4 separate regions of the Homo sapiens genome follow, and regions 1, 2 and 3 are each linked to region 4. Evidence: promoter capture Hi-C in 16 types of primary human blood cells and fetal thymus (Javierre and others, 2016). All regions are on one chromosome and are shown on one strand. The core of a region is centred on a gene start or on the middle of the fragment in contact, and the rest is flanking DNA. Distances in the headings are between cores, read along the strand shown. Region 1 overlaps PRKCH (protein kinase C eta). Region 2 overlaps HIF1A (hypoxia inducible factor 1 subunit alpha). Region 3 overlaps PRKCH (protein kinase C eta). Region 4 holds the start of LINC03033 (long intergenic non-protein coding RNA 3033).

Evidence for each region. Contacts are between HindIII fragments. The CHiCAGO score rates a contact against its expected background, and 5 or more counts as called.
Region 1: a fragment that was not itself captured here is called in contact with the fragment with the promoter of LINC03033 in region 4 in 1 of 17 cell types (activated CD4 T cells); the score reaches 8.7 in activated CD4 T cells.
Region 2: a contact is called between a fragment that was not itself captured here and the fragment with the promoter of LINC03033 in region 4, in 17 of 17 cell types (neutrophils, activated CD4 T cells, naive B cells and 14 more). The highest score is 34.5, in neutrophils.
Region 3: a fragment that was not itself captured here is called in contact with the fragment with the promoter of LINC03033 in region 4 in 1 of 17 cell types (activated CD4 T cells); the score reaches 7.4 in activated CD4 T cells.

What each region holds. Positions count from the first base shown.
Region 1 is chr14:61,392,207-61,398,355 of GRCh38, reverse strand. The region is part of intron 2 of PRKCH (protein kinase C eta); the gene reads right to left. Among named protein-coding and RNA genes, the nearest start is that of PRKCH-AS1, 72 kb to the right of the region's middle. The HindIII fragment of the contact is 3,111 bases long and covers 1,726-4,836 here.
Region 2 is chr14:61,697,543-61,704,210 of GRCh38, reverse strand. The region is part of intron 1 of HIF1A (hypoxia inducible factor 1 subunit alpha); the gene reads right to left. Among named protein-coding and RNA genes, the nearest start is that of HIF1A-AS1, 5.1 kb to the right of the region's middle. The HindIII fragment of the contact is 693 bases long and covers 4,386-5,078 here.
Region 3 is chr14:61,406,505-61,412,926 of GRCh38, reverse strand. The region is part of intron 2 of PRKCH (protein kinase C eta); the gene reads right to left. Among named protein-coding and RNA genes, the nearest start is that of PRKCH-AS1, 87 kb to the right of the region's middle. The HindIII fragment of the contact is 7,709 bases long and covers 1-5,478 here.
Region 4 is chr14:61,566,277-61,573,218 of GRCh38, reverse strand. LINC03033 (long intergenic non-protein coding RNA 3033) reads right to left here and starts at 2,679. Exons shown (of 3, transcript NR_039985.1): 1 at 2,459-2,679. LINC01303 (long intergenic non-protein coding RNA 1303) reads left to right here and starts at 2,566. Exons shown (of 5, transcript NR_110416.1): 1 at 2,566-2,733; 2 at 3,542-3,675. RefSeq lists silencers at 3,389-3,581, 4,322-4,481, 4,562-4,631 and enhancers at 3,973-4,472, 4,473-4,974. The HindIII fragment of the contact is 753 bases long and covers 2,260-3,012 here.

The sequences.
Region 1 (6,149 bases), core at 2,032-4,531, 180 kb after region 4:
AATTTAGTTTAATGCATTTTCCTCAGTTTCCATTGTTTCAATCTATTCTTTTTTTTGCTACTCCACTCTTCCAGACAAAAATTAGTCCAACATAGTGACAATCACACACATGGCAACAATGATGGAATCTGAAGGCTGCATTAAAAATCCAGGGCTGTTTCATCACTATAATAAATTTCAATTTGATCAGACTTCAGATCCAGTTCTTAGCTTCAGGAAGGCTTAGTTAGAATAAAGATTGACATTAGGCAGCTTTTTCAAAATAATAAATCACTTCTACTTCTGCCTCAGTGCCTAGGGGAATTCTGCACAGATGCAGAGTGACACCTTTAACAAGATGAACAGTGGTGAGGGGTTTCTGATCCAGTTGATAATTTTATACGCCTTGAGCTCTGTGAGAGACTTCCACAAAGCAATGAATGTAAAAGAGTTTTTCTTGCTCTATCTAAGTTCAGTGAAGACCCCTCACTGCAGGTTTTGAGTAGGTTCATCTGTTCTTTTTACCCCCGCATTAGGCATAAACCTTCACACAGCACATTGTATCATCAAACTTTGAAGAAACCACTGTTACCACCAATGCAAACATTACTTTTCAAAGCCTTTTGTGTTCTGTTCTTTCTTCTAACTTCATTATCAAACATTTTGGTGCCAATTTGGAAGACGGTAAACAATCTGGTGAAACAGTCCCTGGCATACAGCAAGCACTCAGATACTATTTCACAAGTAATATCTTAGCAAAATGGGTGTTCATTAAGTAAACCTTCAGCATAGTTTGGTTGGTTTGATAAACTATAATTCATGAGCCAAAGTACTTAAATGTTGATGCTCCACAGAGTTCTGCTGCTGGTCAGCCTTGCTGGTTTTCTTGCTAAATCTTCTCAATGGGCCTCTTTATCCATGTGCCTGTCTTCCACCTGGCACCTGGAGCTACATCTCAGGCCCAGGCATCTTGCCAAACTCCGGAATCTTATTTCCAATTTCTCCCAGACATTGCAACTTAGATTTCCCACAAGCACCTCAAACTCCACTTGTCCAAAGCTGGATTCATCATCTTCTCCCAGTTTCTACCCTGGTAAATGACTCTGAGGCACCATCTGAGCATCATCTGAGACTCCTCTTTCTTCATCCTCCACATCCAGTGGATTGCTAATTCCTACTGATTTTACTACACAGACATCTCTCAAAGCTGTCCCCCTCCTCTCCACCCCTACATATTCCAACCTAATTCAGGCCCTAATAATCTTGCCCTGAGACAACCTTCCAAGTCTCTATAATGGTTCTCCACACCTTAGATCTAGTCTTATCAACTAACACCCCTTCCCCACCCTTGAACTTACTGCCACCAAATCAGATCTCTGCTTAAAACCCTTCACTGGTATCTTATCATTTCTATTAGCCTACAAGTGGTGTGAACATGCAATTTATTGTCTGACCTGGCACCCTTTTGAAAGTGAACAGTGGCGCTGTTGTATAATTATTCTGGTGTAACCAACAAACTGAGCCTGTCCTGGGCAAGCCCACACATAAGCCCTCCGAAATCTCTGGCCACATCCCCCCATCCCACTCCCCAATCTTCAGCACCTCCACACCCCCTACCTTTAGCACCTCCACACTCCTTTTCGTTTCTTGTACAAACTGTCTCCCTCTCTTGAACTCTGTTCCCTTCTAGGCACAGTCCTATTTATCATTCAGACTTGTTTTAAACATCACCTCCCCAGAAAAGCTTTCTCTAAACCCTCCTGGCCAAATTGATTATGTAGTCCCATGTGCCAACACTATGCACTGGGCTTATTCCTGCCATGGGACCTGGCTCCCTGCATTGCATACATAATATGTATCTGCCTTCCCTCCTATGAGCTCCTGTGAGAGTGTCTATGTCTCGTTCATCTTTATCTCTCCAGCATCTATGATGTGATTACAGGTCTGCACCCAGCAGGTTTTTCTTATGTCACTTCTCAATCATGTCTTACATTTAACAAAATAGTTTTGCCTGAGCTAATTCAGTATAATTAATGAAAAATTAAAAAATGAGGTAAGTAGCAGTCAGTAGCCCCAATACCAGCCTTGTATATCACAGACCACCGTCCAATTTAAGTAATTTTTTTTAAAGGAGTGCTTTGAGATTATAGAATCTGAGCTTATGGCAGAACCCGCATAGGAGATCATGAAAACAGGCATGGAGATAAGCCAACATTATGCTAGCCACTGTCCATGAAATTCTTGAGGCTTCTTGTATAAAATAAAGTCTTTTCTTTTCTTTTTTTTTTTTTTTTTCTGAAACAAGGTTTCACTCTGTCACCCAAGCTGGAGTGCAGTGGCACTATCTCAGCTCACTGCAACCTCCACTTCCCAGGCTCAGGCAATCCTCCCACCTCAGCCTCCCAAGTAGCTGAGACTACAAGTGTGCACCACCACACCTGGTTAATTTTTGTATTTTTTGTAGAGATGGTGTTTCACCATGTTGCCCAGGCCGGTCTCAAACTCCTGAGCTCAAGCAATCTGCCTGCCTCAGCCTCCCAAAGTGCTGGGATTACAGGTGTGAGACACCACGCCTGGCCATAAAGTCAATGTTAAGATAAAACGAACCTGCTGAGTATACAAGATGGTCCCAGGGCAGGGGTAGGGGAAATGACTGGGATCTCCTTGCTGTGACAATAGGAACATGGAAATGAAAATCCCACTAACATACCTTCATATAGTACTTTATAGTTTGCAAAGCACTTCCCCATATATTATATCATCTGACCTTCAAGACAACCATGTGAGACAGACTGAGGATCAGCCAACATTTCCTGAGCTTTGACAGTGCCTCCAGGATCCTAGGACAATGCCCTTTTCACAGTCCAAAACACACTGGGCAGGCCTGACCTTACACTGCTTTTCCATGAAGGCTTTCAGTATCCAAGATGGGAACTAGAGCTCCAAATGTTGCACCAGCCAACCTGTCATATTATGGCTGGACATAATCTAAGGTGGCTTCCAGGAGCGAGGTCAAGCTAGGGACATGCTCTCAGTGCCAGGTCCAGGTTGCTGCCACAGCTGTGGCAGGCAAATGCGGGGGGGGGCTCCATTTCCTTCTTACTTAACACAGACAGGCAGCCATCACGTCCTCTGCATGTGACAAGGGAGCGGTGTTTTAAAGGCAGCAGCAACGTGCAAGCTCAAGCTGAGCCCCAGTCTAGGAGCCAAAATGAAAAAGCAATGCACGCACAGAGACACAGAGAACAGATATGGGGTTCCTAAAATATACCCCACCCGTAGATTTCAATATTAAAATTTTAGCATTAAAAGTCTATTTCTCATGGATAAAGCAGCTCTTCCAGCATCTTTTAAAATATGCAAACACACCTAAGAGGAATAGAGTACTATGACATCAATCTCTATCACTGTAGTGTGAATTAGCCTATGAATTAACTGTTTTCCTTATCAGCAACTCTTTCTGGACAGGGACCACTGGGCTTCTTGCTGCAGTAAGGGACAACTGTAGGCAGAGACAAAGGACTAGCTTAAAGCAAAGATGGAATTACCAAAGATAAACTCAACTCATCTCACAATTTTACCCAGGGTCAGCTCTGAAAGACACAACTGCAATGACCTAGTAAGAACTCACCTCTAGTATGACTTACCATTTCATTCTTATTATCACTGAAACTAAGAAATAAATACAATGAGAACAATCAGATGTATTTGGTGAGCATTTAGTCCTAGAGAGTTGGCATGGCTCTAAAAAAGTCATGTAATGATTATGGCACAATCAGACCTGGTCTAACATGCATTGCTTTACTTCGCCAGTCCCTTGTAACTTAATGCAGAGAGTTGATTCAGCTCGAATGAGAGAGAATCTTACCCACTCCTCCTCCTGACCTCTTTCTCACTGTTGTGTTTCTTTCTACCATAGCTGATCCATGTTCTACGTGCATGATGAGAATGTTTTATCAACAATGTTCCATAATACTACATTGATTTTATTTGACTAGGCTAGGAACAGACTCATTTTTCTCTGTACATAAAAGATACCAAGCAAAGCAAAAAGACCTTGGAGCAGGCAGAACACCCCCCCAAATTGTAACCTGAACAGTTTTTTTTTTTATGTCAAGTATTCTAGGTTTCTGCTAAATCCAGGTTTGTGCAAAAAGACAAGATTTAATAATGCAGACGATATATTGAAAAACTTTAACATTAAAACAATTCACCCATATGAATGGGAATGGTTGGCTGAAAGGAGTGGAGAAAACTATTTCTCAAAGAAAGTGTAACCAATTTTGCAAAATGCCAATACCAAAAATACAAACAATTAAGCCACATGCTTAAAAATCTTCATGAGGTTTTAGTAATGGTGAAGTAGCTTGATATGGACCAACCCTCCCACCAAAAGATTAAAATACCTGGAAAATATATTTTAAACAACTAGTTGATGATGTGAGAGAACAACCAAAAACACATACAAACTAGAGAGAATCTGACACGTGAAGGAGGGAAACCGCATTAGGTGAGACCCACATTTGTAGGGCTTTTCTCCAGATTATTCCCCAGGTTGTGCAGGATTGGGTAAATAGAACTCAATATGGAACCACAGTTTTATTGGCTTGAAGGCAGAATTGACAAAATTCAAGCCTACCAGATGACTGGATATTGAGGGGAGAAAACCTGGAAAGATGGGGCCACAGAAAGAAGAACCTCCACATATGTAAACTCTTCAAGCCCTCACATCTTCCTAAACTGTGCATGTGCAAGGGAAACTCTAAGAGGTCCAGACAGGAGCAAGAGCTAGGATGCTGAAAGATAGGAACTGAGATTTCAGCTGTTTCCCACCCATAGGAGAAAGAGTTAGAAGCTTGAGTGACATAAAATTAATGGGCTTAAAACACCTTGGGATTTCTACTGAAACCTCACACTGGCTATGCCTTACGAGCAAAGACCATGTCCACGGACTACAGAATTGACTAATTTGACTACAGATGGGTTTAAAGATACTCAAGATTGTTAAGATGTTAATTCCCCTCAAACTGATCTATAGATCCAACACAATTTCAATTCAAAATACAGCAGGATTTTGTCTGGAAATATATAAGCTGACTCTAAAACTGATATCAAATTGCAAAATACTGAGAATAGCTAAAATAACCTTAAACATACAAAAAAGAACGGAGTTGGAGGGCTCATACTATGTAACCATAAGACTCACTATAAAGCAACAGTAATGAGACAGTGTAATACTGGCATAATGTAGAGAAAAGAAAGAGAGATCAGATGGACAAACAGATCAACAGGACAGAACAGATAATCCAGAAACAGACCCACATTATATGGTCAATTGATTTTCAACAAAGGTTCCAGGGTGATTCAAGGGGCCAGGGGAGACTTTTAATAAATGGTGCTAGAACAACTGCATTCGTGTATTGAAAAAAAATGTTTCAACTCCTCTGTAACATCACACACAAATATCAATTTAAGAAGGCATACAGACCTAAACATAAAACCTAAAACTATTTGCTTCTTAAAAAAAAAAAACAAAAAAAGAAACAGGAGAATATCTTAGTGATCCTATGACAGAGAGATCTCTGAAGACATAAAACATATGAACTACAAAAGATGAGATTAACAAATTGAACTTCATAGAAATTTAAAACTTTTGCTCAAAGACACCATTAAGAAAATGAAAAGGCAAGCCACAGACTGGGAAAAAGTAATCACAATACCTATTTCTCACAAAGGACTCATATCCAGAAAACAAAGAACTCCTCTAAATCAATAATAGAAAGACAAATCCAATTTTAGAAAACAGGACAAAAGACTGGAACTGGAAATTATCAAATAAACAAACAAATGACCAATAAGCATGTGAGAAAGTACTCACCATCAGGGAAATGCAAATTTACCCACAGGATATAATTTCATACCCACTAGAATGTCTACGATGAAAAGCAATGGCCATAGAAAGTGTTAATGAGGATATGAAGTAATTGGAACTCTCATGCATTGCTGGTGGGAGTATAATAAAACCACTTTGGAAACCATCTGGAAGTTTCTTCTGAAGTTACACACACACCTACTTTATTACCCAGCAATTCCACTCCTATATAATTATCCAAGATAAATGAAAGTGTTATGTCCAGAAAAATTTATGTGTAAGAAGGTTAATAAAAGCA
Region 2 (6,668 bases), core at 3,483-5,982, 130 kb before region 4:
CCAATACTATAATATTATGAATATATGGATAGTTTCTACTTAATTAAGCCCTTACTTTGTGCCAAGAGCTGTTCTGAGTGTTTCATATGAGTTGATGTATCATTTCATTCTCATAACAATCCTATAAGGCAATTATTCTTATCATCCCAATAAAGCAATTTGTGTAAGATCACACAGTAGAGCTAAACGATCTAGAAAAATGTGTGATCTTAACACATATTTAGTAGAGAAAAGGATCATCTTTTTCTTGAGATGAAAACCCTAACCCATAGAAGAAATACTCAACTTCCCAAAAGTCATGACAAGAACAGCTTGCAGAATGACTACACTTGGTAGAAAACTATAGAATATGAATTCAAATGACTTGCAACAAAAACTCATGGCCCATTAATTACTGGTCAAGAGTTCTGTGTATAGTAAGATAATATTCTACAAGAAGACCATCAAATATGCTACAATAAGACATATTTGACTCATGTAATCAGGGAACTCCATTCACATGGCCAAGTAGGGCAAAACGTTTTCTTCTAGGAAACTGATATATAGACACTAGAAGAGAGAGGGAGTTTTTTTTACTTTTTTTTTTTTTATATTACAAACTGTATGGATGCAGGTATGGGGATGCTAGCCGTCCTCTTCCACACCATACAGACAGCCTGTCAGTGGCAGAGTAAGGCCAGCATGCAAATAGAGCAAAGGTATACAAGCCAAGTAATATCAAGACAAAAGTCAGGGATTATTACACTCTGAGATCATTTGAGACTCTAGATTTGTCTCTTAAACCAAAATTAGATTGTGTTAGCCAATGACTACATTTTCCCCTCTTAAACTAGATTGAGTTGTATTTTGCTACTTGCAATAAGAAGAATCCTAATATACTTATCAAATTGCCAGTGTTCCAAATTTAAAACTTTAATGATGATAAAGTTCAAGAAAATGACACTCTAAAATACAACTAGGTCAAACTTTCTAGAAGATAAACAGGCAATTACATTGAAAGCTTTAAAATGGATACTTTTTGACCCTGTAATTCTACTTCTTCTAATTTATTATTAAGAAAGAACCATGAGGCCGGGCATGGTGGCTCACGCCTGTAATCTCAGCACTTTTCTCACTTTTTTGAGAATAGGTTTGATAAAAAGGCAGTAATGGTAAAACAGACTATATCTGAAATCTGGAGAGTATTAAGAGCCATATATTATGTTAAGTACCCAACATTAATATTATCTAATTTAACCATCACCACAAGCCTACAAAATTCTGATACTCTTCCTCACTATTTAGATGGGAAAAAATGTAGATGTAAATTTTTTAAAAGCAGGTTAAAAACAGTACTCAGTCCCTAATCCTACAGTTATTAACATACAGATGTAACACAGAATTGAGAAATAGTAGACAATGGTCTCTACATAGTGAAAAAGCAGGTGATTTTTATTTCTTTGTGCACCTGTGTAGTTTTTAAATTTTTTCCTCCAAAATTTTAAAATTTCATTAACATTAAAATAGTTTAGCCAGATCAAATGATTGTAAACACACTCAGGGAACTCCTATTTAAATGGTATTCTATTATAAAGCAAAGAGAATAATCAATGCTCTTCTATTATAAAGCAAAGAAAATAAACCCCAACCTTACTATAAAGTAATAGAATTTAAATATCTATATCAAAAAAAGTCAAAGGAGATTCTTTAACTTTCTTCTTACCAATCAGTGAATCTCAGACAGGGAACTAAAGAATTAAAACATTCTTTTTAATTTTTTTTTTTTTTTTTTGGAGACAGCATCTCACACTGTCATCAGGCTGGAGTGCAGTGGCGCGATCTTGGCTCACTGCAACCTCTGCTTCCCAGGTTCAAGCGATTCTCCTGCCTCAGCCTCCGAGTAGCTGGGATTACAGGCATGTGCCACCACATCCTGCTATTTTTTTTTTTTTTTTTTTGTATTTTTAGTAGAGACGGGGTTTCTCCAAGTTGGTCAGGCTTGTCTTGAACTCCTGACCTCAGGTGATTCACCTGCCCCGGCCTCCCAAAATGGTGGGATTACAGGCAGGAGCCACCGTGCCGGGCCGACAATATTTCTAAAGAAACCTTTTAAAAACCTGCATTCTCTTTGTTCATCCAATTATTCAATCATTGTCTCATTTGTTAATTCAAATACTTATTAAGAGCTCACTGTGTACACCACGTACCAGTATTCACACCACAGATTTCTTTTTTAATTTTTTTGAAACACAGTCTTGCTCTGTCACCCAGGCTGGAGTGCAATGGGGCGATCTTGGCTCACCGCAACCTCCGCCTCCCAGGTTCAAGCAATTCTCCTGCCTCAGCCTCCTAAGTAGCTGGGATTACAGGCACCCGCCACCACGCCTGGCTAATTTTGGTATTTTTAGTAGAGATGGGGTTTCACCATGTTGGCCAGGCTGGTCTCGAACTCCTGACCTCAGGTGATCCACCCACCTCGGCATCCCAAAGTACTGGGATTACAAGCATGAGCCACCGCGCCCAGCCCACAAATTTCAAATTCAGCCTACTTGGGATTTGGTCCACTGAAACATATCCAGTTTTATAATGGAAAGGGGGAGGGTAGAAATCATTTTAAAGAAATTTGCTTAGCATCTGAATTTACAAGACTCTTAAGAACAGAAACGTATCCCAACCCTCAAAGACTTCAACTTTCGCCTTTAAACCTTATTTTTAACCATAGTATTTTTCAGCTGGAAAAACAAATCCTCCCAAACTACTTGGAAAAAAAAAAGGGGGAAACACGGGGGACCTGTCCTTAATGAGTGAAAATTGCAATATTAAATACTAGACACTTTTAAATTAATTTGCCTAAATATATTGTGACTTTTCAAACAAGTGAAGAACTACATACAGTAAACTATGTTCCATCACTACATTTTCCCATTTACAAGATAATAAATTTTCAAAATCATATGTTGAAATAATCTTTATGGTTAAAACTGTAACCGGTTAAGGTGAAATTTTAAAATAAAGAAACACTCATAAATAACAGTTGAGATCACCAGAACAGCTAAAAGCTAACATCTTGGGAACAGTTTTTAATAAAAATACATTATTTCAATTATTGTTTTAAATCTTAGAGAACAAATTTCCTAATTAAATTGGGCTTTATCAACAATAGAACAGGTGTACACTATTTTACCCAAAAAGTGTTTCTGTGAAAAAGTACTGGCATAACAAATCTAAGTCACTAGAAAAATTGAATTCTCCTTTTAGAGGTACTTACTCTCCTTTCAGTTAAAGCTTCCACTGGCAAACTGTAGTTAGCTTTCAGCTGGTTAATTATCCACAAACAAGCCCTTAAAAACAATCACTTCAACATATTAGATGGCTACCACTTTGCCACATTAGATGGCTAAGAAAGAAAGAGAAGAGAAGGAAGGAAAGAAAGAAAACAAGTGTTTAGAAGGATGTGGAGAAATAGGAACCCTTGTGCACTGTTGGTGGGAATGTAAACTGGTGCAACTGCTATAGAAAACAATATGGTGGTTCCTTGAAAATTAAAAAGGGTTACCATATGATCCAGCATCCCTCTTCTGGATATGTATCCAAAAAAAGTGAAAGCTTCAAAGAGAGATTTGCAGACTCATGTTCAGAGCAGCACAATAACCAAGATGTGGAAGCAACCCAAGTGTCCGTTGCTGGATGAATGGAGAAACAAAATATGGAACATATAATGGAATATTGCTCAGACTCAAAAAGGAAGGAAATTCTGACACATGCTACAACATGGATGAACCTTGAGGACATTACACAAAGTGAAATAAGCCCATCACAAAAATATTAAAACCCTATAATTCTATTTATATGAGGCATCTAGAGTAGTTAAATTTGCAGAAACAGAAAGTAAAATGGTGGTTGCCAGAGGCTGAGGAGAGGGGGAAATTGGGAGTTGTTTAATGGGTAAGATTTCAGCTTTGCAAGATGAAAAAGTTCTGGAAGTTAGTGGCACAATGTGAATATACTTAACACTACTGAACAGTACTTAGAAATGGTTAAGATGGTAAATTTTAGGTTAATGTTTTTGAACTACGATTTTAAAAAACAATCAAAAGCTATAAGAAAAAAGCCATGAGGTAATCACATTTTTGTTTTTATGAAACAAAAATTTTAAATTTTGTTTTAAAAATTCAGGTTTTAGATACTAGATTTCTCTAAAGGGATCATGTCTGGCAAATAAATAAGGGTTTATAAATTTCTACTGCAGAAAACATGAACATTAATACTCAACGCATATACAAAACAGTTAATTCTTGATGTGTCAAGAGACCAAGAGATATAATTATTTTTAAAATTCCAAAGCCTATAGTTAATTTAAACAATCTGACCATATTTTTACCAAAAATACTGAGCAACAAGAAGCTTGGCTTGTCTTAGTTTCAAATTCTCTTTCTAACCTTCCAGAGTTAAGCAGAAAACACATACACACACTGGGTAAAATCCACCCACTGGATAACTAGTCACAAAGTTTAAAAAATCAATTTCTTGATTGGAAACTCATCCAACATCACATTTAAATTTAGATTTTTTTATCCTGGTTAAGAAACAGACTTATGTTAATCTTAGATAAAGGGATACAGTATTTTAAGTATCTAAATTTAAAAAATTATATACTAAGAGAAGGCATCTATGAACACACAATTTAACCCAAATCTTTAACATCCATGCACATCAATTTTTATTTCACCACCAAACATAATAAACTGAGTTCTTCAGAAAAAAAAAAAAAATCAGTCAAGAGACTAAATAATCCCCCTCAGCTTTCTATACACCACTCTTGACATACAAGAATAGAATGTAACCACAAAATCTAAACCCTGAGCCGTGACACCATTAGAGTCACAGACAATGGCGTTAAAAGTAAAGACAATGGAAGTTAACAGGTAGAAAAGTTGACATTCTCCAAACTGCACAAGGTGCTCTGCAGTGGACCGTAGGAATGAACTCCAATACTTTCTCAGTCTAAAATAACTCGATAGTTCAGTAAATACACACGTGTGGAAGAGTGCATAGACTTCATACAAATTGAGCCACAAAACAGACCAGTAAGACAAGCTTGAAGTCTTGCCTTCAGATGGAACCCAATGGTCTTAACTCTGGAGAAACTCATAAGCAAAGGACAGTTTTTCTACCACGTAGCTGCTTTACTGAGAATATTTTATCAACTCATTATCTTTTACAAAGGTTAATTTTTATAAAATTGTCTAAACTTTGGCATCAAGACGAAAAATGTTTTAACTTACTGCCAGTACTAAGAATGCAGTGTCTTGCACATATCTTGCTTAAATGAACAGTAAGACTAGAATACTGTGTATGTTTGACTCTAGAGTCCAGAGTAAACTCAGTATTCTATTTGGGGAGAAAACACAGGGGTGAGCAATTGTGAAGCAGGAGGCCTCCACTAGAGTAGAGAGCAGATCAGATGCTCAAGAAAAATAACTGATACTAGGTGCCAATATAACCCAAGGATGTACTCTTTTGCCCATTGTAACAGGAAAAAAACGCTTTTCAAGCTCTGGATCCAATGTTAGTCTTTTCACTTTCAGGAGATAGAAAAGATGCATGAAGACACAGAAAAGAAACTAAAGGAAACAGCTGGAAGGACTAGCAAAAAAGAGTTTTAAGAGTTGTGGAAGTTTAAACAAGAATTTTAACAGGTAACATCTATTTTCAAGTACACAGTGTCATCAAGACTCCTGCAATGGGCTAAGTGCTTCACAAGCATTATCTCATTTAACCTTTACAATAACTGCTCAGATGGCTGCTATTCTTATCATCATTTCAAAAGGAGGAAAGAGGCTCAGAGGCATTCAGTAACTTGCTCAAGCTCACAAGTGAAGGGCTGGGACCCTTAACTCAGAGGTATCTGCCTCTAGATCCTATGCTCTTAACCACCATATGCTGCTTCCTCAAACAAAAGGACAATCAAAATAGAATCATAAGGAGAAAAGTTTGCTAATAAATGAGAGAGCTTCTTGACTTTTAATGGCCAAAGTTAATGAAGGAAATTAAGGAATATCTATTCTCAGAAATTTTACTTTAATGATTCAGTAATTATTTGTTTTGGAAAACTCTGAAGGAGTCTGGCCTGAAGCCTGAAACAGAATCATTACTCTCTTGACATTCCCTTAAAAATCTAAAAATCAAAATGCACGTGCTATTAAATAAGTTCAGCCCCTATAACTAGGAACAACATGAAATGTCCTGCGTTAAATCTACAGTATCATAACCATACCCATTTTCTATTCTGATTTCTTCCAATTCTTCAGGTTTTGAGTTTCCTAGACCTTCTTTTAAAAAGACAAATTTGTTTTCCAAACTCCGACATTGGGAGCTCATTTAAAATGAAAAAAAAAATTGCTTGAAGAAAATCTCCGTCCCTCAACCTCTCAGTTATCTTTCAAAAAACTGTAAATTAGTTAGAAAAGGTCATCTATTATAAACAGCATCTAAAAGTGCTGAGTAACCACCACTTATTAAGTGTTTAACTTAATTTTTCAGTTATATCAAGAACTTCTATACTAAGAAATATGAATCCATCCAATCCAAGGTTGCCAAGTTTTCAAATGAGAAAATTTTGAAAGTAACAGATGGGCTGAGGAAAATCTAAGAGCTTATTTAGAATTGGGGCTGATGAACAGTAGCTA
Region 3 (6,422 bases), core at 375-2,874, 160 kb after region 4:
CCAGGAAAAGGTGTAGCTTCTGTAGGAAGAGAGGTTCCCTGGCAGCCAGCAGAAAGGAAGAAAAGAGATGGCCACACTGAGGGACAGCAGGCACATAAAGATGGCAGATCTTGCAGGATTTTTTCAGCAGAGTAAGAGAAAGAGAATATGAGTGGGAAAAAAAGTGGGAAGGGGCTTTCAGGTGTAAAAGTTTTAGAATTGCTGAGAAACCAACACAAGAAGAATGCTTCCGTTTTTGCTAAGTATCTGCTTAATGCCAAAAATTTATATGCCATGGGTCCAGCCAGCAACATCCAATCATCTGTGAGATGATTGCTCAGGTCAGGCATTGGCACAGCAGGCATGAAGGAAGATTAAAGGGTCAAGTGACCCCTGGGCATCACTGAGTTAGCACTGCAGGGATGACCCCACAGTCCTGGCTAGAGAGAGCACTGAGAAGATAAGTAGGAGCTTATGGTTCAGATAAATTAGCAGGGGCCAGGTTCAGGTCATATGGGTTCGGTTGAAGTAACATAAGGATGGAGTCATAGAAAAGCAACCCATGTTTCAAATCCAATTGGGGTCTTTTTGTTTATTTTCTCCATTTTCACTTTTCTACTTGTCTTTTTAAAGACAAGTATGTTTCTGCTTAACATATGGAATATAGTTATAATAACCATTTTAATGTCCTTATCTGCTAATTGTAACATCTGCGTTAATTCTGGGTCAGTTTTGATTGGTTGATTTGCTCCCATTATGGGTTGTACTTTCTTGCTTCTTTGTACATCTGGTAATTTTTGGTTGGATGCCAGACACTGGTTTTTGCCTATTGAGTGATAGTTTTGTATTTCTATAAAATCAGCTTTGATCTGGGACACAGCTAAGTTACTCAGAAATAGTTCGGCCCTATCAGATCTTGCTTTTTAGATTTAAAGCCATGCTCAGTTGGGTTAGTTATTCCCCACTAAGCAAGCAAGGCCCTTCTATGTACTCTACTCTACCCAATGCTCCATGACTCTTGAAGTTTTCCAGTCTGGTTGGTGGCAGAAGCACTATTTCTGGCCCCGTGTGAGCACCAGAAACAGTTATCTTTGCTCCTTTTGAATGGTGCTTTCCCCAGACTCAGGCAGCTTCTTTACACTGATCAGTTCTCAGAACTTTGTACACCTCCAGAGTTATGTCTTGGTGCAGCTGTCTCTTCTCTAGTACTGTATCCCATGATCTCTAGTGGCCTTAGTCTCTCTGGACTCTCAGATCCAATCCTCAACTCAGGGAGTCTGCTGGGCTCCACATGGTTCCCTTTTCCTGTGCTATAGCTTGGAAACTCTTTTAAGGCAGTTTGAAAAAACTCAGAGGTCTCACCTCATTTGTTTCCTATCTCTCAGGAATCATTGGCCTTTGTTGTCTGATGTATCCAGTGTCTTACAAATCATTGTTTCATTTATTTTGTCCATATTTTGTTTTTCACATGGGAAGATAAATCCAATACTTGTTTCAGCATTTGGCCAAAAGTAAAGTCCCCCTATAGGTTTTAAACTGAAAAATCCAAGAACCATCCCATCAGTTTAAGGCCTAATAAATACATCTGTGGCTGACTGGAACAGGGGTCCTCAAGTGTTAAGTGCCTGCCCTGTCCACTCTTTTATGCAAAGAGTTACTCTATGTCATGCCATAATCATCCGTTGACACCATTCCTATCTTGGTCACCGAGGAGGACAAGGGACTGGTACATGAACCAAAGAGACGTGTAAAGGATGAGCATGAAGGCTGGTGTCTTCTGAGGTGGCTCAAAGGTCTGCATAGTGAAGACAGCCTCTGTTGGATGGGATGGTTTGTTGGAAGTCGCTGGGGCTCAATCCTTGCTGAGCTCTGATCCACTTTCCCCAGAAGCCCACTGGATATCCAGGCTTGGAAGTCCTGACTTCAAATGACTGAAGGCCTAAGGAAAAGACAGCATCCACGATGTCTCATACTTTCTGTCCCTTTGCAATCACCCTCATTTTCAAAAATCATCTGTCCACAGCTCTTCCTGACAGGCTTCATGAGCCCAGGCAACACAGCCATTCGCACGGTTTGGAATTAGCCAGGCACACTGGTCAGTGTTGATAGTGGAAGGTGATCAGAACAGTAGGAAATGTGACCACCCAAGGGACCTGGCCATGATGGCTATGTTTATGTGTAGCTACCACAACAGGGATAGAGGTCGGGTGCGTTGCCTACAGGTAACGCTTATCTTTGAAATTAGAAGATAAGGAAAGCTCTGGGAGAGGGAAAAAGAGCATCCAATAATATGCTGGGGACTGCAGAAGGAGTAATTTAGCCACACCAGTGCTCTTTGCCTCACTCCATTGGCCACAATTGGTGCTGGAAGCAAGAAGCAAATACGCAGTTAGACTCCATTCACCAGCATCACCCCAATACCCCTAGAATCTAGGGCCTAGAGAAAAAGAGCCTTTAACAGGATGAAACCTGTCAAACTACTCAGAAGCAGCTGAGCCTAGCAACAGCCCAACGGATTTATATTACCCTACAGGCAGGCAGCATGGAGCAGAGTAAAAAGATTAACCCAAATCCACTCAAGTTAATCAACGGTTTGTCAACACATGCTCCCATTTCACATGGAACAAAATTGTAATTTTACCTTCAAAATGCATAAGAGATATTTTAATTAATAATCAAATACTAGATTTAAAGTGGATTTAACATATCACCATTTTTAAGAACGGGGTGGGGGTGAAGTCCTAAGTGAAACAAAACCTGCTCACAGACTCAAGAGATGCCATCTGGTCATTCAAAGCCAACCAAGCCTGTAAAATTAAAATCATAAAAGTCAACACACACTTTAACTTATAACTGAGAAGCTAATTTAATAAACTAAGGCAAATATTTGGGAAAAGGCCAAATGCTGTAAAAATACACAGAGTGAACCAACTCAATTTATTGGTGAATAAATAACAAAATAAACAACCACAGTCACTCCAAGTTGACAGGCAACATTTGATCAGGTCATCAGGCTGGTGACCAAACCTAACAAGCTCCTAGTAACAGGAGGAAAAGGCAGACGACAGGGGCAATGCTGCCTGACAATGTACAATGCTGGCCCTGGCTCTTACCATTCAATCTCTAGAGATAAGAAATTAATAACAAGTAGCATATACAATCTACTTTTAAAACATTTCTTTTTCCTGGGACCTAGAAACACCTTATAAACATTAACTCTTTTTTTTTTTTTTTTTTTTTTTTTGAGACAGGGTCTCACTGTGTCACTCATGTTACTCAGGTTGGAGCACAGTGGCACAATCATGGCTCACTGCAGCCTCAAACCTCTGGGTTCAGGCAATCTTCTTGCCTCCCAAGTAACTGGGAATACAGGTGCACACCACCATGCCTGGATTTTTTTTTCTTTTTTTGGTGGAGATGCCTGGCATCTCACTATGTTGCCCAGCTGGTCTTGAACTCCTGGGCTCAAGCAATCCTCCTGCTTCAGCCTCCCAGAGTATTAGGATTACAGGTATGAGCCACTACCACTCATTTATCTTAACAGAACTACAGGGAGAAGGTTCTCATTGCATTTCTGTATCTGTACTGAAAGAATCGGCCAGAGTAGGGGATGAGTTTCAAACATATCCCAAAGAGCAATTCCTTGAGCCCATGGCTGGGTCATGCTATCCTGGAGAGTAGAACTCCTGATCCATGTTCTGCTATCTACCAGCATTCCCATGGAGCACCCATGGCAGTGTGCATGCCCATGAACAGGGCTGTCTACGCCCACAGCCACCACCCCCATGGCACAGTCGGTCCTCACCAGGAGAGGCAATGCGGTGGCATCAATTAGCTGGACCCTCAAGCAGTGGCTTGGGAAAAGGTATGACATTGGCTCTGGTGGGCAGATTCAGAAAGAGCCAACATATTCCCTGTGGCCTAGCGAACAGGAAACTGACAAAGCAGCACACACTTTCCCCAGAGTTAGTGAATCCCTCCTACACCTTCCCGACCTTGCCCTGAAATTCTCATACCCACAGCTTTATAGTTGATAGCTCCTACAAAAAGCACATAGAAACACAGACCTGTATGTACTTGACACCCTCCTAGAATATGACGTCTATCCGGTGACGTTCAATAGCTGTCTAGGATTTGAAGCAATGGCCGAGAAAGGGGGCATCTGTAATCACATTTTTCCAGTATCTTTTAGATGATTCACCACCAAGTACATGGAAGTAAATGGGGCACGGATTTCCTTCCCAAGTGGGTGGGAACATAGTCTGCATCAGATCCTAATGCTACACTTTGTGGGTGTGTGCTTGTGTGCATAAGCTCATGTAACCTTTGCAGCAACCCTGGGTTTAGGTATCATTAGCCCCTTGTTTTACACATAAGGCAACCATTGCTTAAGGTCACGCAGCAAGGAAGGACAGGCAGCAGAACCAAGTCCATCTGATCCAAAACTGATGGTCCTCCCCTACCCATGCCCCTATCTCCAGCACAGCTACAGATCCCCAATAGCAATTCCCAGGAAATTTTGACTGTAAGGATTAACAGTGACACCAGAAATTAACTTTTGGGGGGCATTCAGGGAACTGTAGGCATCACTAAAAGTAGACCTATTACCTGAAAGCAGGCTAATCTTCTGATCCAAACAAATTGAAAAAATGAAGAGATTTCTCTCTCCACCATGCCCCCAAAAGCTCCCCAAAGCAGTGAGACTCTGTACTACCCAAAACCTAGAGTGGGAATGCCACTGAGTAGGATGGGATGCTGAACAGTGCAAGAGAGACGCCTGTATGGTATTCCACGAAGGGAAAGTATTTTCAGTTTTGACTTCAGTAAAGAAGTGATCCTTCTCACTAAAACATGTTTCAAAGTCTCCCCCAAGGCCACTGCACACTGCCCAGTAAACACATGGGACAAATGCTCAGATTCAGGATTGCAAACTGAGGCCAGAGAAGGAGGCATAGAGGTGTGAATTCAGAGGAAATTCAGACAACAGGGGATGTGGGACACTGGAGAACCCTGCCCTGTCTGAAGAGCTCAAGTTGGAAAACCTCAAAAGCATTATTCCATGCTGCATACAAAGCAAAACTGGTCTGCAGGCTGATTTCAGCCCATGGGCAGTCTGTAATCCCTGGCTAGAGAAAGACAGAGGCACAGACAGACAGACACAGCCAGCATGCAGTCAATATTCTGCATATCAGACAAAAGGTTCTATAAAGGCTGTACCTAAGTGTGACCTTCAAGCATTCAGAGAGGCAAAGACCAAGAATGTAGGAATTAAAAGTCTCAAATGAGGACGTCCAACACCCGAGAAAGAGGCATGGAAAAAGTGACAGCTCCCAGACACATTTGAGCAGGGCCCTGAAGCTGTTCCTTTCACACTCTGGCTGAGTGTCCCCACCAGGTCCTCACTGAGGAGGGGCTGGAAGGGGACAGCAGAGTCCTACTGAATTGCCATTCCTTAGTATGTTTAAGGAAATCAATACAGTTCCCTCCTAGAGTTAAGCTTCAGTCTTTGTCGATGAATTCTTTCTGAAGTCCTAGGTTAGAACCCCTCCAAGCATTGTTATGTTCTCCTGTGCCTGGGTGGATCCCAAGGAACCATTAGATAAGATGGTGGTATTAGACATGCAGTCCCGCCTTCAGAATGGTAGGGTATTTAGACTTAATAATAAATGCATTATTCATTTTACAGAGACACCTGAACTCATCATCTGAGTATTAATTATTAAAATCCCTATAATCCTAAGATTTAGATAAACTAAATGGTCAGAGCATGAGAATAGTCTCTGATGAACAGAATGACCACTTTTAAATCAGTCCCTACTCTAACACCCCTCCTTGCTTAAAACTACCCTATTCCTGCCCACCATGTAAATGGCTGTTGTTCTCCCTTTCTGAGTAGCAGATACATCCCATAATACAAACTGTGCCACAAAAATCAGCCCCGGATCAAAAAGTGAGATCTTGTAGTGGATGCGGGAAGTCATGAAATTGACTAATACACTACTCCAATCACAGCAAACCCCTGACAGAGTAAATCTCGGATGTCGAGTTCATCACCAACAAAGAGGAGACCAACACTGGTGGAGCCATGCCTGTCTACTGGAAAAACTGATGAAATCTTCAAACCTTTTTGCAAAAATAACTCTGCTCGGCACAATGCTGAGAAAGTCAGCGTGAAGTGGAAGCTGTTATCATGCTTTCAAATCAGTCAGAGAAATACCTACTGAGTTATGTGATCCATTCTTGGTTCTAAGAATTAGCACACAGGTGCCACTGGAACCCAAACACTGATAAATATAAGATGAATGAAATTTCCTTTCACAATTGTTGTTGTCATTTTAAGAACAGTATTAATCAAACCTTTTTAAAGATATATACTACGAAAAAACTGTGGCTCCCATTTTAACTGGAACCACTTTCAATTGTCTTTTCCTGGTCTCAGTTAC
Region 4 (6,942 bases), core at 1,430-3,929:
TCCAATGAACTAACTCTTTGTATCCTGGGCACTCTCTAACCCCTCTTCACTTTTTTTTTTTTTTTTTTTTGAGACAGAGTCTCACTCTGTCGCCTAGGCTGGAGTGCAGTGGTGCGATCTTGGCTCACCGAAACCTCCGCCTCCTGGGTTCAAGCAGTTCTCCTGCCTCAGCCTCCCAAGTAGCTGGGATTACAGGCACCCTGCCACCACACCCAGCTAATTTTTCTGTATTTTTAGTAGACATGATGTTTCACCATGTTGGCCAGGATGGTTTCGAACTCTTGACCTCAAGTGATCCATCTGCCTCGGCCTCCCAAAGTGCTAAGATTACAGGTGTGAGCCACTGCACCTGGCCCCCTCTGTACTTTTTAATTTTTATTCTTCTTTCAACGCTCAGCTCAAATGTCACTTCCCCTAAGAAGCGTTCCCTGAGGCTTCCCCTCCCCATACACGTTAGATCAGATAAAGCTCTTGTAATATTCTTGTAGAACATCCTATTCTTTTGCTTCAGGGCCTTTATCACAATTGATAATTATATACTTACTTTTACTTATTGAATTAATTCCCAGTCTCTCTCAGTAGATTACATGCAGTGTCTGTTTCACTTGCCATTGTATCTCTAATGCCTACTACAAGTGCCTGGCATGTAGCAGACACAACTGCTTGTGAATGAATGAATGGTCTCAGTGATTCTGTAAGGATGAAGGTGATGTAGAGTAGTAGATGGCAGCTCTACTCTGGAAGTCCAGAATACTGCTCTGATTCACACCTGCAAGCCTTATTGGTCAATGACTACTGATATTCCAGCCACCCAAACAACTGCTTTCGGAGAAGCATTAATACCTGCGAATAAAACAAATCTATTCGTTTCATACATTTGGTTCAGAACACTAGGAGAATTTGAGAAGAGACGAGCCAGCCCCAAGCTGTCCTTGTTTCTTTTATTAAGAATAGGCCATGATTTGAGCACATTCTACTACTTGCCTCACTTCAGCCTATTGATGGGGGAAAAGTGAGAGTCTGTGTGTGGGGACTCTGGCTTGGCAGTGAGATCTAACACAGAAAGATCCTGAAGAAATATGCTGACAATGGGGTTTTATCTCTTCAATGCACTGGAGACAAAATCCCTGCTTTTAAAAACAACACTCATACAGAGCCAAGGATGTCCCAGAGTGAACAGTCCTAACCCTTTCTCAGCCTGCCTAAGAGCTCGTTGGTTTCAGAAGGATGAGCCAAGGACTGCTACTTAGAGACTACTGTCTAGGTCAACCCAACTGGCATAAGTAAAGCACCTACTGTTTATAGTAGGAGGCTGCAAGATAACAGGAGATGCAGACTATTGAAGGCTACTGATCTATCTGTGTAGACAGGCAAGAATAAAACAACTGGAGAAGAAATCCAGGATTACACAAAAAGAAGAGCGTGATGGTATGGTAGACTACTCCAGAACAGTGAATTTCCCCTGCATTAAGGATGAGATCCCTATGAATTGGGATCATTCAGGAAGTCTTCTTGGAGAAGAAAAGTTTGAGCATATGGGGAAAAAAAGTTGGATTGGCAAAGAGCTGAGCTGTCAGTAGCTGGGTCCTTAGTAAGTAGGCTGCATGGAGCTGGGAGTTATGCTAAAGGAGTTGTAATTTGGGATGCCTCTAATTAACCATTTTGGGAAAAATATAATAAATCCCTTTGTAGCATCTATAATAAACTGCCCAATATCTATGTGGTGGGGAAAAAGTTTTATTCTACGTTTCACGTGGATGGTGATAACACTAGGTAATCTCAGCATCTTTCTTATTCTCTTGCTAATCCAGGATTCTAAGTAATAATCACTTTGTTCTACAACCTGAATCTAGCCCTTGTACTGTGCAGTTTTTTTCTACACTTATTTTTCCTGTTGTCTGAATCAATCTCCATGGAAGCATAAGTTTTACTGAGTTTCAACCAGCTGTGTCCACCGAGGTAAAGATGGTAAAAATAAAAGGCACAGGGCATATATACCACAGCAGCAGTTACTTCCCACAAGGAACCAGAGATTGGAAGTGAAGCTAAAACATTTTCAGCTACGATAGCATCTCTTTCAAGGTGAGCCATTTCCCCAGGGAGAGTTTCCAGCTCTTAGCAAAGGCAGAACAATAAAACATCAAGGATGTCTTTCTAAGGCTGCAAACAGAATAGCCAATACCTTGAAGCTGATCTGCTTCAGAGTCCTTTAAAAGCCAGGACAGCAACAAAGTGCCCACATTACATTTTCTACAAGCTTGCTAAGCATCTCTTTTCCTAAACCACAAAACCCGAGACATTTCTACAGAACAGGCAGAAAGGGAAGTCCTGGGAGATCAGGGCCCTGTCTCAGCAGGCATCACTCCAGCCTGTCTTTTCCCGAGTGGTTTTCTGCACTTCTCTTCCATCTTTTCCCCTCTGTCCCACACTGGAAGTCACTAGTCTGTGCCCTCCTTACCTCCCATGGTTTCTGCACCTTCATTTCCAAAGGCAAGTGAAAACAGTGCCAGGCTGCGCACATGGGTTACTCCAGGGACTTCTCTTCCCGTTTCCCCTAAAGCATTTGACAGTTAGATCTTGGAACTGAGTCCAGCAGCACTGAGGTCAGAGAGATGGCTAAAGCTAAAAGCAAACTGGATGCTGTTCAGGAGGTTCTCCTTTGTCATTTTTATCTCCAAATAGAAGACCTCTGTTTTCCCAGAAGATTAAATAGTAGAAAAGAAGTAGCCCAAGGTGGGTGACTCTGCAAACAGGTGGGTGAGGTCTCTAGTTGAGTGAGGGGGTGTCTGTGGGTTGTGGGTTCTTCTTATGAGCAGAGCTTGGAGGAATTTGTTCTATTTGTTGTGGTTTTCCCAGGGGGAAGTCGGGGGTGGCTGGGACTCTAATGATCATTATCAGAAGACTTTGGATTAGGCCTCTGAAACTTTAAGATGTGGATCCTCTCGCAATCATGTTAAAATGCAGATCTCCTTTCAATAGGTCTGGGACAGAGCCTGGCTTTTCTATAAAGCTTCTGGTGATGGGATGTCGCTGGTTCTCAGCCACAATTTGAGTAGCAAGAGGTTAGCTTTTCTACTTACTGCCTTCATATCCCCAGTTGGGCTATGTCGTTTTATCAAAACAATGTGGTAAGAGTGAGCGCCAATTACTAGCCTGTTGAATCATCCATTGTTAGAGCTGTTTCTTTGAGGTACATTTAAGAGGCCCCTCCCTGTGGTTCCCCATTGCACAAGAAGCCCATTTGCCAGGCAATACCTTGGGCAAGCAAGCCACTGTGCAAAATTGCATTGGCTCTTCCTGCTGCCAGCCAGGCGGCTGCTGGTTGACGTTGGAGTTGTACAGTTTATGTGATAGTGATGACAGCGCTGGCTCTGAAGGGTACTGAAGATTTTGAAGGGGTACTTCGCTGCAGCAGCTTCACCTCTCACTTTTGTTTACCCACCCCCGAGGCTTGTGGGAGAGAAGGATCAGGCAGAGCTCTGCACGTGCCATGCCAGGGGTGGAGGAATTATATTTTTATTTTTTGCTTTCTCTGCTACAGGACATACCATGCCTTTTACAGATATTTATAGGACAATTTCCCTCCTGAGAGTGCCCAAGCATGGGGGATGGTGAGGAAGATGACTGAAGGAGAAAGCAGGAAAAGGGGGTGTCTGCATGTATGAGGATTGGAAGGTGGGGAAAACCCTTCGTGTTTGGTTCAGCCTTCAAGAAAGAGGAGGGGTTGACTAGATTACAGATGTTAAACCAGGGGTCTGTGGTTCAAACCAGCAACTCTCTGCCCTTGTAAGCTGTATCTGGCTGGTGTGTTAATTTGTCTAGGGTAAGAGCCCCTAGGTTTCAACAGATTGTCCTAGAGTCAATGATACACAAAAGGTTAATCAGCCTCATTTCCAATCAGGATCATCTGCAAGTCCCTCCCAGAGCAGATATTTGGAGCACTAGGCTTCTAGAAGCAGCAGACATCAAGTTCGGGCCATGGGATTAGGGTGGACAGGGCAGCCACTTGGAATCATTTTCTACCAGAGGCAGAAGAGGCTCAGCTAGCAACAGCCCCATTTTACAGAGCAGAAGCCGAGCTGCAGTCAATTCAGTGATTCCTCCTAAAGTAGGGAGTCAGAAGCCGAGCCTGGACTGGAACCTCGGCCTCCTAGCACACAGAGCACAGGTCTACATTGGGGAAAAGCCCCTTCAATCTGGCAGTTGCCTGGAAAGCGCAAGACATTTGCGGCCAGAGCGCCAGGAGCCCAGCTGGTTATTTCTAGCTTCCTGAATGTCAAAAATACAGGCCGCTTCTCAAAGCAGCCTCCACTTGTCAGACCAAATCAAGGCATCAGCGCGTCAAGCAGGCGAATCCTCTGCCCCAGGCACCAGCCTGGGGGCGCACGCCCTGCCTCCGCCCCGCCCCACACGGCGCACCTGACCGGTTCCCGCGGTGCGCCTAACCGCGGGCGGGCGAGCGCTGCACCCACGCACCCGGGCGTCGCTCCCACCTGCACCCCGGCGTCACGCCTGAGCGCAATCTGCAGCCTTCACCCACCTGGGCGGCTGCCTGGCTTTGTTTAGAGTTGGAGTCAGCCCGGCAGCCTGCCTTGGCCGAGTGTGACTAGGGAGCTGGTCTCTGACCCTAGCGGCAGATTGGGCAGGACACACTGCCTTCTCTCTGGTCTCTTTTGGAATCTCCCACTTTCACCTGCTTTTCTTCTTAGCAAAACTGCCACCCCTGCCCCTACCCCAATTCCTCGATAGATCTAAATCAACGGGCTTGTTTGTGCCTCTGCAGAACCAATCCAGTTTTACAGGAACAAAAACAAACCCCAGTCCTGAGCGTCTGTTGGTTTCCCGTCCCAACTTCTGTTCATTCAACAAACATGGGAGCATCTACTGGCTAGGCTTTGGACACAACAGACTGAACTCTACCCCAGGGAACTGGCAGCCCCCAGGGGAAAAGAGAAGCGGATGTTTTTAGGCTGTAATTTAACGGTCGCAGGAGAGTTTGCTAGGGAACATGGGGGCAGGGAATGAGCATTGCAGGCAGAGAGGACAGGCTGGTGAAAGAACACCGCAGGCGGTAGGATCTGCAGGAAGGCAGGGTGGCCGGTGGGCACAGAGAGATGAGGGCAAGTAGCAGTGATGGGCTGAGGAGGAGCCAGGACTCAGCCAGAGAAAGGAGAATTGACTTCATCCTGAGAACAATGCAGGGCCTTGGAAGGTTTAAACAGGGAAGTGACCAATCCAATTTGCTTTCTTAGTGGGACTGGAGAGCGCAAGGCCTGTCAGTCCCAGCACAGGGGCAGCAAGCGGCAGCACCGCTGAAAGTAGCAGCATTTTCAAGGACAGGGGTCATGTTCTCCCACTTGGGGATCAAATTACCTAAGTTTTCTTCTATTTCCACCCCCACGCTGCTGCCTTATTCCTATCCCTGGCCCCACTGTGACTGGTTTGGCCTTCTGCCTCCATTGGCCCTTGCCTAGCCTTTAGGTAAAATGCTAGGTTGACCAGGTGTCCAGAAAAAAAAAAGAATGGATAAAGAAAATATGGTGTGTGTGTGTGTGTGTGTGTGTGTGTGTGTGTGTGTGTATTTAACGATGGAATACAACTCAGCCATAAAAAAGACTAAAATCTTATCATGTGCAGCAACGTGGGTAGAATGGAGAGACATTATGTTGAAGGAAATAACCAGGAAGGCAAAGTTAAACACTGTATGTTCTTCTATGTGAAAGCTAAAAAAAACAGTTGATCTCATAGAAGTAAACAGTAGAACAGAGGACACTGGAGGCTGGGAGGGATGAATAGGGAGAGATTTGTTAAAGTAAACACAATTATAGCTAGATAGGAAGAATAAGCTGTACTGTTCTATACCACTGTGGGATGATTATAGTTAACAATATATAATTTCAAATAGCTAGAACAAGGATATTGAATTTTCCAACACAAAGAAATGATAAATGTTTGAGATAATGGATATGCCAATTACCCTGATTTATTGTACACAATACATATCAAAACATCACTGTGTACCCCCATGAGTGTGTACAATTATTATTTGTCAATTTAAAAATTATTTTAAAAGATGCTAGGTTGACTGTACTCCCAATCCATCACCCTATTTTCAACCATCCATTTGTTCATTGACTCAATAACAATTTCTAAAGTGTTGCTGTGTGCCAGGTGCTGAGTTAGTCATTGTGGGATACAGAATGGGAGATTCATCTGTTTCCTGATCTCAAAGAGCTTAGAATTTATCCAATGTCCAAACTTGCCAGTGCATCAGAATCATCTATAAAGATTTAGAAAAATATAGCCAATTGATCTTCACCCCAGACTGACTGAATCAGAATGTTTCAGGGTAAGTTCCAGGAAGCCATATTATTAAAATTCTCCTCCAGGTAATTTTGTTGAGCAGTCAGAATCTCTGATCCCTAGAGGAATGCTGAAGTGGAATTTCTCTAGTGACCTTTCCTCTACATAGTTGAACAGACTCAGAGTCTGGCTCCTGACCATAAGACAGAGAAATCACCAGAGAAGACAGGGCAACCGCAGTCCAACTGAGCTGTAAGCCTGGGACCTGCTCACTCACCTTCAAGAAAGCAGGAGGGGCAGGAGGGATGGGTAAATGTAAGGAAAGAGAAGAATGTACTGGGATGGCGGGGTGGGTTGTACATGCCTAGAGTGGAAGATGCCTCTCTATCTAAATTTTATAAATTGTCCATTTAGAAAGCAGAAGACCAGCTCTCTGGCTTGTTGAAACAAACACTCCTTCTTTCTCAGCCACATCTTGATTACTATGGTCAAGTAGGGATGATTGTGCTGGCCAATTTCAAATGGTAGCCCTGATGAATTATAACAAATAATCTCCACGTGCTTTATACACATGCCCATGTCCCCACCAATTAAGTCTGAGTACTAGGGCAAATTGAAGCAAAGGGTGGTGGGGGGTGA